2 separate regions of the Homo sapiens genome follow, and region 2 is linked to region 1. The links are contacts of gene promoters, found by promoter capture Hi-C in human tissues and cell types (Jung and others, 2019). All regions are on one chromosome and are shown on one strand. The core of a region is centred on a gene start or on the middle of the fragment in contact, and the rest is flanking DNA. Distances in the headings are between cores, read along the strand shown.

What was found. The method cuts DNA at HindIII sites, captures the fragments that hold promoters and counts their contacts. A contact is called where the count stands out against the background at its distance.
Region 2: a contact is called between a fragment that was not itself captured here and the fragment with the promoter of FOXL1 in region 1, in 1 of the 25 tissues and cell types used here (IMR-90 fibroblasts).

The regions. Positions count from the first base shown.
Region 1 is chr16:86,575,339-86,579,993 of GRCh38, forward strand. FOXL1 (forkhead box L1) reads left to right here and starts at 3,211. Exons shown (of 1, transcript NM_005250.3): 1 at 3,211-4,655. The coding sequence starts at 3,386. The coding sequence ends at 4,423. RefSeq lists an enhancer at 4,071-4,655. The HindIII fragment of the contact is 9,412 bases long and covers 1-4,655 here.
Region 2 is chr16:86,633,402-86,638,133 of GRCh38, forward strand. No RefSeq gene overlaps it. Among named protein-coding and RNA genes, the nearest start is that of FOXL1, 57 kb to the left of the region's middle. The HindIII fragment of the contact is 7,055 bases long and covers 1-4,732 here.

The DNA.
Region 1 (4,655 bases), core at 1,961-4,460:
ATGTTTGGAAAGCGACACAGATTACTGTTAACTCAGGTTTCTGCTTTTTGCTTTCCAGTGAGGAAGGTTGAGTGGATGGCTTGGGGCGCAGTGGGAGGAGCTCTTGTCTCTCACCCGTCAGCCTTTTTATCTGAGGCCGTTTTCATCACCAATGCCTGGTCTCTGATCTGCCTCCCTGAGGAACGCACATGCGCTTTGTCCCAGGACTGGGAAGGAGGCTGACTACCCTCATCCCACGCTGAACCCCGTTTCTGCTCAAGCCTCAGAGTTGGAAACTCCAGTCCTTCTGGAGCATCCGGGCAGGCCAGAGATCTCAGGCTTTTCTTGCAGGCTGGGAGGTGAGCCCTCACCAAGTGACTTCTCAGATGACGCGCTTTTCTGGGATCCGAGGCTTATGAATCTACAGGGAACATTCAGTGTCCCCATCTGGCTCTCTAGGACACTCGTTCTAGAGGCCCGCCCGGCCGTCTCCCAGCTCGGCTGCCCCCCGCAGGCCCTTCGCTCTGGCCTCAGCCAACAGAGCCTCCGCACGAGGGCGCATCCGCTCTCGGACTCCTAGGGCTTGAGCCTGCACTCCCCGGAAATATGGAAATTGCCCCAGCGCGGGGTTCCTTCTAACAGAGGCCCCTCCTAGGCTCAGGTTACAAACTCATCAATCACCCGGGAGCCCGGGATTCAAACCCGCTCTGGAGCGGGGCTGGGGCGCAAAGCCGGAGTTCTACAGCTGAAACCTCCCGGAGACTTTGCACACTTCTGCAAACGCGCGGGGCTGGGTGTGCGTCTCCAAACCGCGACTAGAGCGTGGGCATTTGTTTTTTGTTTTTTGGTTTTTCTCTCTCTCTCCTAATCTCTCTCTGTCTCTTTCTCGCTCTCTTTTTTTTTTTTTTTTTTTTGCTTTACTATCGGTGCCCCGCCCACCAGCCTCCCGTGTCTCCGCCCACGTCCCGCCCATTACCAAATCGGGCAGTATTTATCACCGTACAAATTCAAGCTCGGATTTGCCTTAGAGTTTAGAAGACGCGCCGGGACGGCGGGAGTTTCGGTAGAGGCAGGGATGTGCGTGCTGGACTTCGGGTGCCGCGTGGGGAGCTCCAGGAGGGGCTGTGGGATAGGAAGGTGGGGAAAGGGTTGCATAGTGACACCGGTTTATCTCTCGGTCTGGGTGTGTTGGAGCGAGCGCCGAGGCTGGAGAAGGAACTGGATCCAAACTTGAGCTTGCTGGGGGCGCGCGGCCCCGGAGAGGTTGGGTGACCCCAGAGACTGTGGGGCCTGCGGGTTGCAAAGGCGCTGGCATTGAGGTTTCTTCACCCCAAGTTTGAAAGGGGTACGCGGGTGAGAGCGAGTGGTAACGAAAAGACAAAGCCTCGCCCCTCCTGGCCAGAGGTTCACCCCCAGGACCTAGGCGGGCGCGGCCGGGCTGCTCGCTGGACCCACGTTAGAGGAGCAGGGCCGCGGAGGGAGGCCCGAGGTGTCCCAGGGACTGGCCTGTCGCTCCCGCAGGCAGTGCCGGTACCCAGGCCGGTTTTTCCACCCTTCCTGCGACTTCCTTTTTGGTATTTTAAATTTACCCGCTCCCCTGCGGTCTACTTATTCCATGGGCTGGATACCCAGGAACCCCAAACACACGGGTTATTTCTGATTTTCTCATTTTGAAAAAGGATGCCCGCCACGTTTCCGTGTTCAGAGGCTACCTGGGCACTCACATCCTCAGCCGGGTGTGGCAGCGGCAGACACTCCCCCTACCCCTGTAAGTGCCCTCGGTGCCTCTCCCTCCTTCCTGGCCCACTGGCAGTGGGCCATTTCTACACCCACCTGCCATCCTCCCCCTTCCCTCATCTCTTTGACATGCTCACACGATTTGCTCAATGAGACGCCAGTTATCCGAATGTGTGTGTGTGTGTGTGGGTGTGTGTGTGACAGTGTGTGTGTGTTTTAATATTCAGGGGGTGGTCATAAACAGGAAGTAGTCACACTAGGTGCCTCTACCCTTACCCTAACCGGTGGAGTGGGGAGGAGAGGCCCCCTTCGAAATCAGCATGATTCAGGATTTTTTATTCAAACAGTGATGTGGGAAAATGTAAAATGAGATGGGGGTGGAGGGCCGCGTACACCCCAGGGTGGGTGGATACAGGGAGAGCAAGCAGGCTTCCCAAATGCCTAATGTAATCACGGGCCAGCTGCATGCACTTGTAAAGTTGTTATAACCCCCTCCTTGTTATAAACAGGAAAGCCCAGAATATAAAGCTGGAGACCCACATTCACAAATACCAGGCCTCCCGCGCCAGCTGCCACGGCCTCCTTTTATGGTGTTCCTCTCTTGCAACCTTGGCCCCATCAGGAGGACCTTACTTTTGCCCCCGGTTCTCTAAATGGGTTTATTTTGAAACCTTCCTCAATGGAGCTGTGGACCATGAGCTCTTCCCCAGGCCCCCAGTGCCTTAGGCCTTCCCTTCCAGAGAGACTGGGCTCCCAGAGTCCACTTTCCCTCCGATTTCCGGAGAGCCCTGGAAGGGAGGGTGTGGGAGAGCAGGTCCCTAGAGAGTGCCACCTCCTACTGGGTCTGCCACCTGTTTTTCCAGGGAGGGCCGCATCCCCTTCTCAGCAGACACTCAGGCTTCTTAGATACTCTCCCTGCCCCAATCTAAAAGGTTCCTAGGACCTCAGAAAGTGTTTTACTAGACTGTGGCATCTCGATATCTCCGGTTAAGCCTGGGAGAAGAAAAGACCTTTTGTGGGAGGCCCTGGCGTTATGGGGCTCCCCCAGGCCAGCGTAAAACTCATCCCTGCACACCCACCCCCATCTCCACCTCTCCTTCCTGGCTCAGCAGACCCTGCTCTGAGCCACCGCAGTCTACATCCTGCCTCACTGACTGTGTGTGCTTACAGCGTCAAGGGGTGGACGTGATATTTCAAACATCAGATCAGTGCGTTTATATATTGGGTGCCCGGAAATTTTTCCAAATAAACACAGCTTGATTCAACTTGGGTGGGCGGACTTATCAACAGACTAATTCTATAAACAAATGAAGGAATAGCCCCAAAACCGATTGGCTGGTATCAAAAAGACACGTGGAGGGAAAAGCTTGGAGTTTTTCAGCAATGAAATTTTAATTAATGTGGGTGGGCTGAGAACACAAGGACTGTTTATCATAGACAATTTATTTTCCAGGGCTAAGTCAACATATAACAGCAAACTTACAACAATTATTTAACATTTTTAAAGCCATGAAGAAGGGACAGAGCACGGAGCGGCCGGGGAGAGCGGCAGAGCCAGAGGCAGAGGCACGGCTGGCTCCCCGGGAGGGCCCTTGCGGCGCGGGGCGCAGTGCCTAGGCCGCCCGGGTCTCCTGCGTTGCGGGGAGCGCAGCGCAGGCTCTCGCTTGCCATGAGTCACCTCTTCGATCCCCGGCTGCCTGCCCTGGCCGCCTCGCCCATGCTGTATCTGTACGGTCCCGAGAGACCCGGCCTCCCTCTGGCCTTCGCCCCCGCGGCTGCTCTAGCTGCCTCGGGCCGGGCCGAGACCCCGCAGAAGCCTCCCTACAGCTACATCGCGCTCATCGCCATGGCGATCCAGGACGCGCCCGAGCAGAGGGTCACGCTCAACGGCATCTACCAGTTCATCATGGACCGCTTCCCCTTCTACCACGACAACCGGCAGGGCTGGCAGAACAGCATCCGCCACAACCTCTCGCTCAACGACTGCTTCGTCAAGGTGCCCCGCGAGAAAGGGCGGCCGGGCAAGGGCAGCTACTGGACGCTGGACCCCCGCTGCCTGGACATGTTTGAGAACGGCAACTACCGGCGCCGGAAGAGGAAGCCCAAGCCGGGCCCCGGGGCCCCGGAGGCCAAGAGGCCCCGCGCCGAGACGCACCAGCGCAGCGCGGAGGCGCAGCCGGAGGCGGGGAGCGGGGCAGGGGGCTCGGGCCCCGCAATCTCCCGCCTGCAGGCAGCGCCCGCGGGCCCCTCGCCCCTCCTGGACGGCCCCTCTCCGCCGGCGCCCCTCCACTGGCCGGGGACCGCGTCCCCGAACGAGGACGCTGGTGACGCTGCCCAGGGCGCAGCGGCCGTGGCGGTCGGCCAGGCAGCGCGCACAGGGGACGGCCCGGGGTCCCCTCTGCGCCCCGCCTCCCGCAGCTCTCCGAAGAGCTCCGACAAGTCCAAGAGCTTCAGCATAGACAGCATCCTGGCGGGAAAGCAGGGCCAGAAGCCGCCTTCAGGGGACGAACTCCTAGGGGGTGCCAAGCCTGGGCCCGGCGGCCGTCTGGGTGCCTCGCTCCTGGCCGCCTCCTCCAGCCTCCGTCCGCCTTTCAACGCTTCCCTGATGCTCGACCCGCATGTCCAGGGCGGCTTTTACCAGCTCGGGATCCCCTTCCTCTCTTATTTCCCCCTGCAGGTTCCCGACACGGTACTCCACTTCCAGTAAAGCAAACAATGGCACGGTTCTTCTCCCGGCCCAGCCTGAGCCTCCGCTGAGCGAAAGGCCACAGCTCCCACCGGCGGAGGATTTTAAAATGATCTTTGCCTGGGTCGGCCTGTGGGTTCAGGGAAGTGTTACCAACCATTGCGCGCAGGTGGGCGCGCTCGCCTGCCTTCTCCGAAGCAAACTTTTCCCAGCAACTGGGAGCAGCTACGGAGACTTAAAAGATCCCCGCGGG
Region 2 (4,732 bases), core at 1,496-3,995, 58 kb after region 1:
CCTCTGATGCATGCAATAGTGAGAGGTTGGGAGTCTCTTTAACTGAATCAACTAAATTACCAAGAAAACACAAAATACAAGGGAAAACACAATATTTAAAATCTATTATGGTTTTTCAGAGACCAAATCCTTTCTCCAGATAAAACTGTTGGTGAGTGGCCATTGTCACACCTCATTATTTACACTGCGTGGCTAACGTCACAGTCATGGGCCTGTGGAATCATCTCGGCTCCTTAGGCTCCCCTGGCCATGAGAATGTCTCAGACTTCCTCGTTTATTCGTGACCTTGACAGTTTCAAAGAGGACTGGTCAGGTGTTCTGTAGAATGTCCCTCAACTTGGGCTCTCCTGATGTTTTTCTCTTGATTAGACTACAGTTAGGGGCTTTGAGGAAGAAGACCACAGAGATGAAGTACGTGTCTCATAGCATCATATTGGGGGTACGTGATATCCCCATGACCTATCACTGCCGATGTCAAACTCGGTCACTTGGTTACCGTATTGTATGCCAGATTTCTCCTCTGCAATGCTCCTGTCATTCTCTGTCCACACTCTGTTCTTTGGAAGCAACCCATTAAGTTTAGTTCACCCTCAAAGGAGAGATTAAGCTCCACTTCCTTGAGGGAGAGTATTGACATATATGACTTAGAATTCTTCTGTAGAGAGGAATGATGCTATGTCATGACTCAAGACAAAATTGGGGCCCTGTTAGTAAGGAAATAGGGGAGCATGAGATTCCAACCCTCAATTGTAAATGGGGAAACTAACATTTGCCTGACCTATGCTGATAAGAGAATGTCTACATCTAATGTTGGAACAAGCAGGAGCTTGGAATAGTGGTGGGGTTTTTACCACAGGTTGGCAACTTTTGACAGGCGAGTTTATTCATTCAAGGCTTAAAGACTAGAGGCTGGGATAGAGGGAGGTACACAGTGGTGAGTAAGGGTGTAGCGAACATACTTCATTGTTACCCAGTATCCACTTTGCCCTTTCCTTTAGTAGTAGAATCCTAATGTCTTAGCTGGGTACACAGCTGCCCAGCTAAGGACTACATTTCCCAGCCTCCTGTGTGGCTATATGTGGTCATGTGATGAATTGCTGGCCAATGGGATATGAATGGAAATGATGCATTCAGCATCAGAATTAAGCCAAGGAACAGGACTTTGTGATGGATAAGTGGGAAGAAGAAATTGGGTGCTGTTTCTTACTTTCCACTCAGCTAGAAGCATTTGGTATGGTGGTCCTTGAATCCAAGCTGTGTCATCAGCACTGCATTAAACAGCATCTCTAGATATAGCCATAAATTGTATATTCACAAGTGAATCAGATTTTAGTGAATCTCAAACAAAGAGAACTTTGTCCTAGGTCAACCTCTTATTGTCTGTGTAAGCCTGAACAAGCTACATCACTTCTGTGCATCTCTGTGAACTTATTTTTGAGCGTTGATGCCCACCTCACCTAGATTTTCGGAAAAGCCAATGCATTCAGTATGGAAGATACTTAGCATGGGGCCTGGCAGGCAGTATCTCAGAAAACACTTCCAGTTTTGTTATCTTTCCAATGATCATTACCAAGATGTTTGTGGGATTTTTCGTCAACATTTACAACCTGGTTAGAGTTTGTCATCTTCCTCCGCTTTTTTTTTTTTTTTTTCTTTTTTGGGTCTGCTTGTTAAACAAAATTAAATTGCAGTCCTAGTAAGGCTGGTCTTAAACGTATGAAACCATTTTCAAATTTGAGACGCATGGGCGAATTCAAGGCACAGGAATTAGTCTGCATTCCAGATCAATTAGGGAAATAGTTTGCAGTAACTACTGCATTTTGAAACACATCAAATAGGAAAGAGAAGTCACTGTTGTATGTCACTGTCAGAAAGCAAAAGTGAGGCTTTTTTGTCTGATTTCAAGAATGGCTCACTCACAGGGTCCGCAATGGAGAGGCAAGAAATAGCAGGCCTGCCAAAACCACTGTGAAGTTTTCACTGACTCAAAGACCGCCCACCCAATCCCAGGGGACTTGGTAATTCAATGGAGATTAAAGGCACACTAAAATCCTGGTAACCAGAGAAAAGCAGGCTCTATTAGGTTACCATTTCCATTTTTCTGTCAAGCAAAGGCAGAGTTTCCCCAGAGAAGACGGAGTATTTGCTCTCAGCCAAAAGACCCCAAAGAAGCAGAACTCTTTAACCGAGATTACAAAAGAGAAAAAACGTGTAAGTGCAGAGCTGAGCCGAGCCTGTGCGTTCCTGCCAGCCCCCCACTATGAGCTAAGGCCCCTGGCACTTAAGTCAATGCAAAATGAATAATGCACTTAGTTAAATATTTCCTCCCATGATGAAAGTCCTTGGTCACCCGAATTTCTTTTTCTACTTGACGTGTTCATTTCTTTTTCTGACCAGATATCCATAATAAAATCTGGCACTCTGAGGACAAGTGCTTTCTATACAAGCTTTCTCCAACTTTCTATCACAAGCCTTTGAAACTGAACACCCCCTTTTTATCCTGTATTACTTCCTCCCCTGGAACCGTTCAATCTCTACTCAGCAATCCCATTAGACTTTTAACTTCCATTTTTTAAGTGCTGATAAAAATGTATAGATGTCTGAACCCCATCCAGGGAAGCCAACTTTCAAACTATGCAAAAAGGAGGCCGTGGCGGCTCTGGAAGGATGGGAAATGGAGCTTGTGGCAGAGCCACACTGTGGCCCGCCAGCTGTGCCGCATGATTGCACGCTCGCCCACGCGTTCTGGGGGGCTTGGTGGTCCATTTCTGGCACAGGCTCGGCCACTGCATCATGATCTAGGGGTTGTGGGATTACTATACAGATTTTTATACAGCGTAAAGTACTCTTGTTCATCTTTCTGAGACGAGGCTGAACTTTATGGAAGAAAGGAGTGGTTTAGTAGGAAATGATCAGACTAATCACATGGAAATAAACAGCGTATTTTATCACGTTCCACGTGTTCATGCATTTCCCCTTCTTTTTTATAGAGAGGGAGGTTGCCAGCTGCCTTGAAGAAGAGGGAGGGGCAGAAGGAGGCTTAGGGTCCTCAGGCGGCCCTTCTGAGAAAGGAAGAGGGAAGGGAGGTGTAGGCGAAGGAGGTGGGCCCGTCTGGAGGAAGGTAACTTCTCCTCCTTTAGCTGGGGGTGGGGCAGAACATGGGATTGTCCTCAGACCCAGGCCCTGCTCTTCTCTGAAAACACTGCCAGTGTCCCCTGCATACTGGCTCCTGCCCAGGTCTCACTCATGGGAAGCACTGGGTCAACAGGAGGTAGGGTGGCACATGGAAGAGCAGCTACCTACACCTCCTCGTTCCCTCTGAGTCTCCTCTGTGCTTCCAGCTCCCTGGGGATAACCTCCCTGTCCTGCCTTTGCTGGGCAGCCCACCTGGCTCTGGGCCAGAGGAATAGCCTGCCTTGGACTTGCTGCTCTTGCCAGTATCTTGACTGCCTCACAGGTCCCTCCATGGCCCCTAGCTCTTCCATCCCCAGTGCAACCAAATCCCTGTATTCAATCCCTCTGGTGGCAGTGCCTAGAGTGGATTTGCTTTCCAAATGGATGGAGAGCAAAGCCTGAGGATGAGGGCTCTGGATCAGCAAGGTGGCACTTACCAGAACTGCCAGGTCCCTGTGCTCCTGGGGCAGTCAATCCACTGAGGAATGTGTCTTTTCTGCAGAGTGGATGTAACAGGACCTGGAGCAGCATCCCTGGTTTTGGCAGGCTTTCTGGGCCCAAGTTGCAGTGGGGGTGGCTTTATATTGTGAAGTGTGCTCCTCTTTCCTGCAGCCTGTGACTCCAGGTGGAGAGGCTCCCCTGTCACCTCCTCTCAGTGTGACCTCTGCCAGGGGATGCCATCCACTCAGCATCTGCAGGATCCCTGAGGAGCAGCCATGGCCCATGGACCCCACCCACCCCAGCTCAGACCTCTGGGACCAACACCCGACAGGCAGCAGGCTCTTCACAGACACAACCCAGGAAGCTCTGAGCAACTTGGCCATAGCCCCTGCACTAATGGGGACACTGAGGAGTGACAGTGACTCCAAAGAGTCGCTGCCCAAGCAAATGCATGGAAAAGAGGAGCCAGGGAACACGTACAGCTTCTGGGCTTTGCCAGGCTCACCTCAGCTCAGCTTCATGGTTTGCTGGGCCAGGACTTCATGTTCATCCAACACCAACCTGCCAGAAGCATCTGTTCCCTGGGGATGTGGAGGGGCAGGAGCAGGAGCAACTCCATACTGCTGGACCTGCATAACGGACGTCCTGCCACTGGGACCATGAGCTCTGGGGAGGGAGAGAGAGAGAGAGAGAGAGAGAAGGAAAACACTGAAAAGACAGAGACACAAGGTTTGGAGAGAATGCAGCCTGGCTTTCCTAACTCCTTCTAGCTGCTAATTCTGATTCCCTGCACCCTGTGACTCCAGGTTCCATAAGACACCACCAGACCTTTCTGATAACTTCCCCCTTTTATCTTTAAGCCAGCTTGTTTGGTTTCTCCAATTTGCATCCCACAGAATCTTAAAAATGTCACAGCACCTGTCCGGAGGAGCTTAGCAGAATCTGGGGGTGGAAGGGTGGGGACTGTGGAGGAGAGAAACAGGCAGGGAAGAGATAAAGTGATACGGGGCCATGGAGAAGGGACACTTCTTCCTGGGGGTCAGGGGAGGCTGCTGGGAATCAGTGATCTCAAAGTTGTGTCTGCAGAATGACCAGGAGCTGTTCAGGTGAAAAAAGA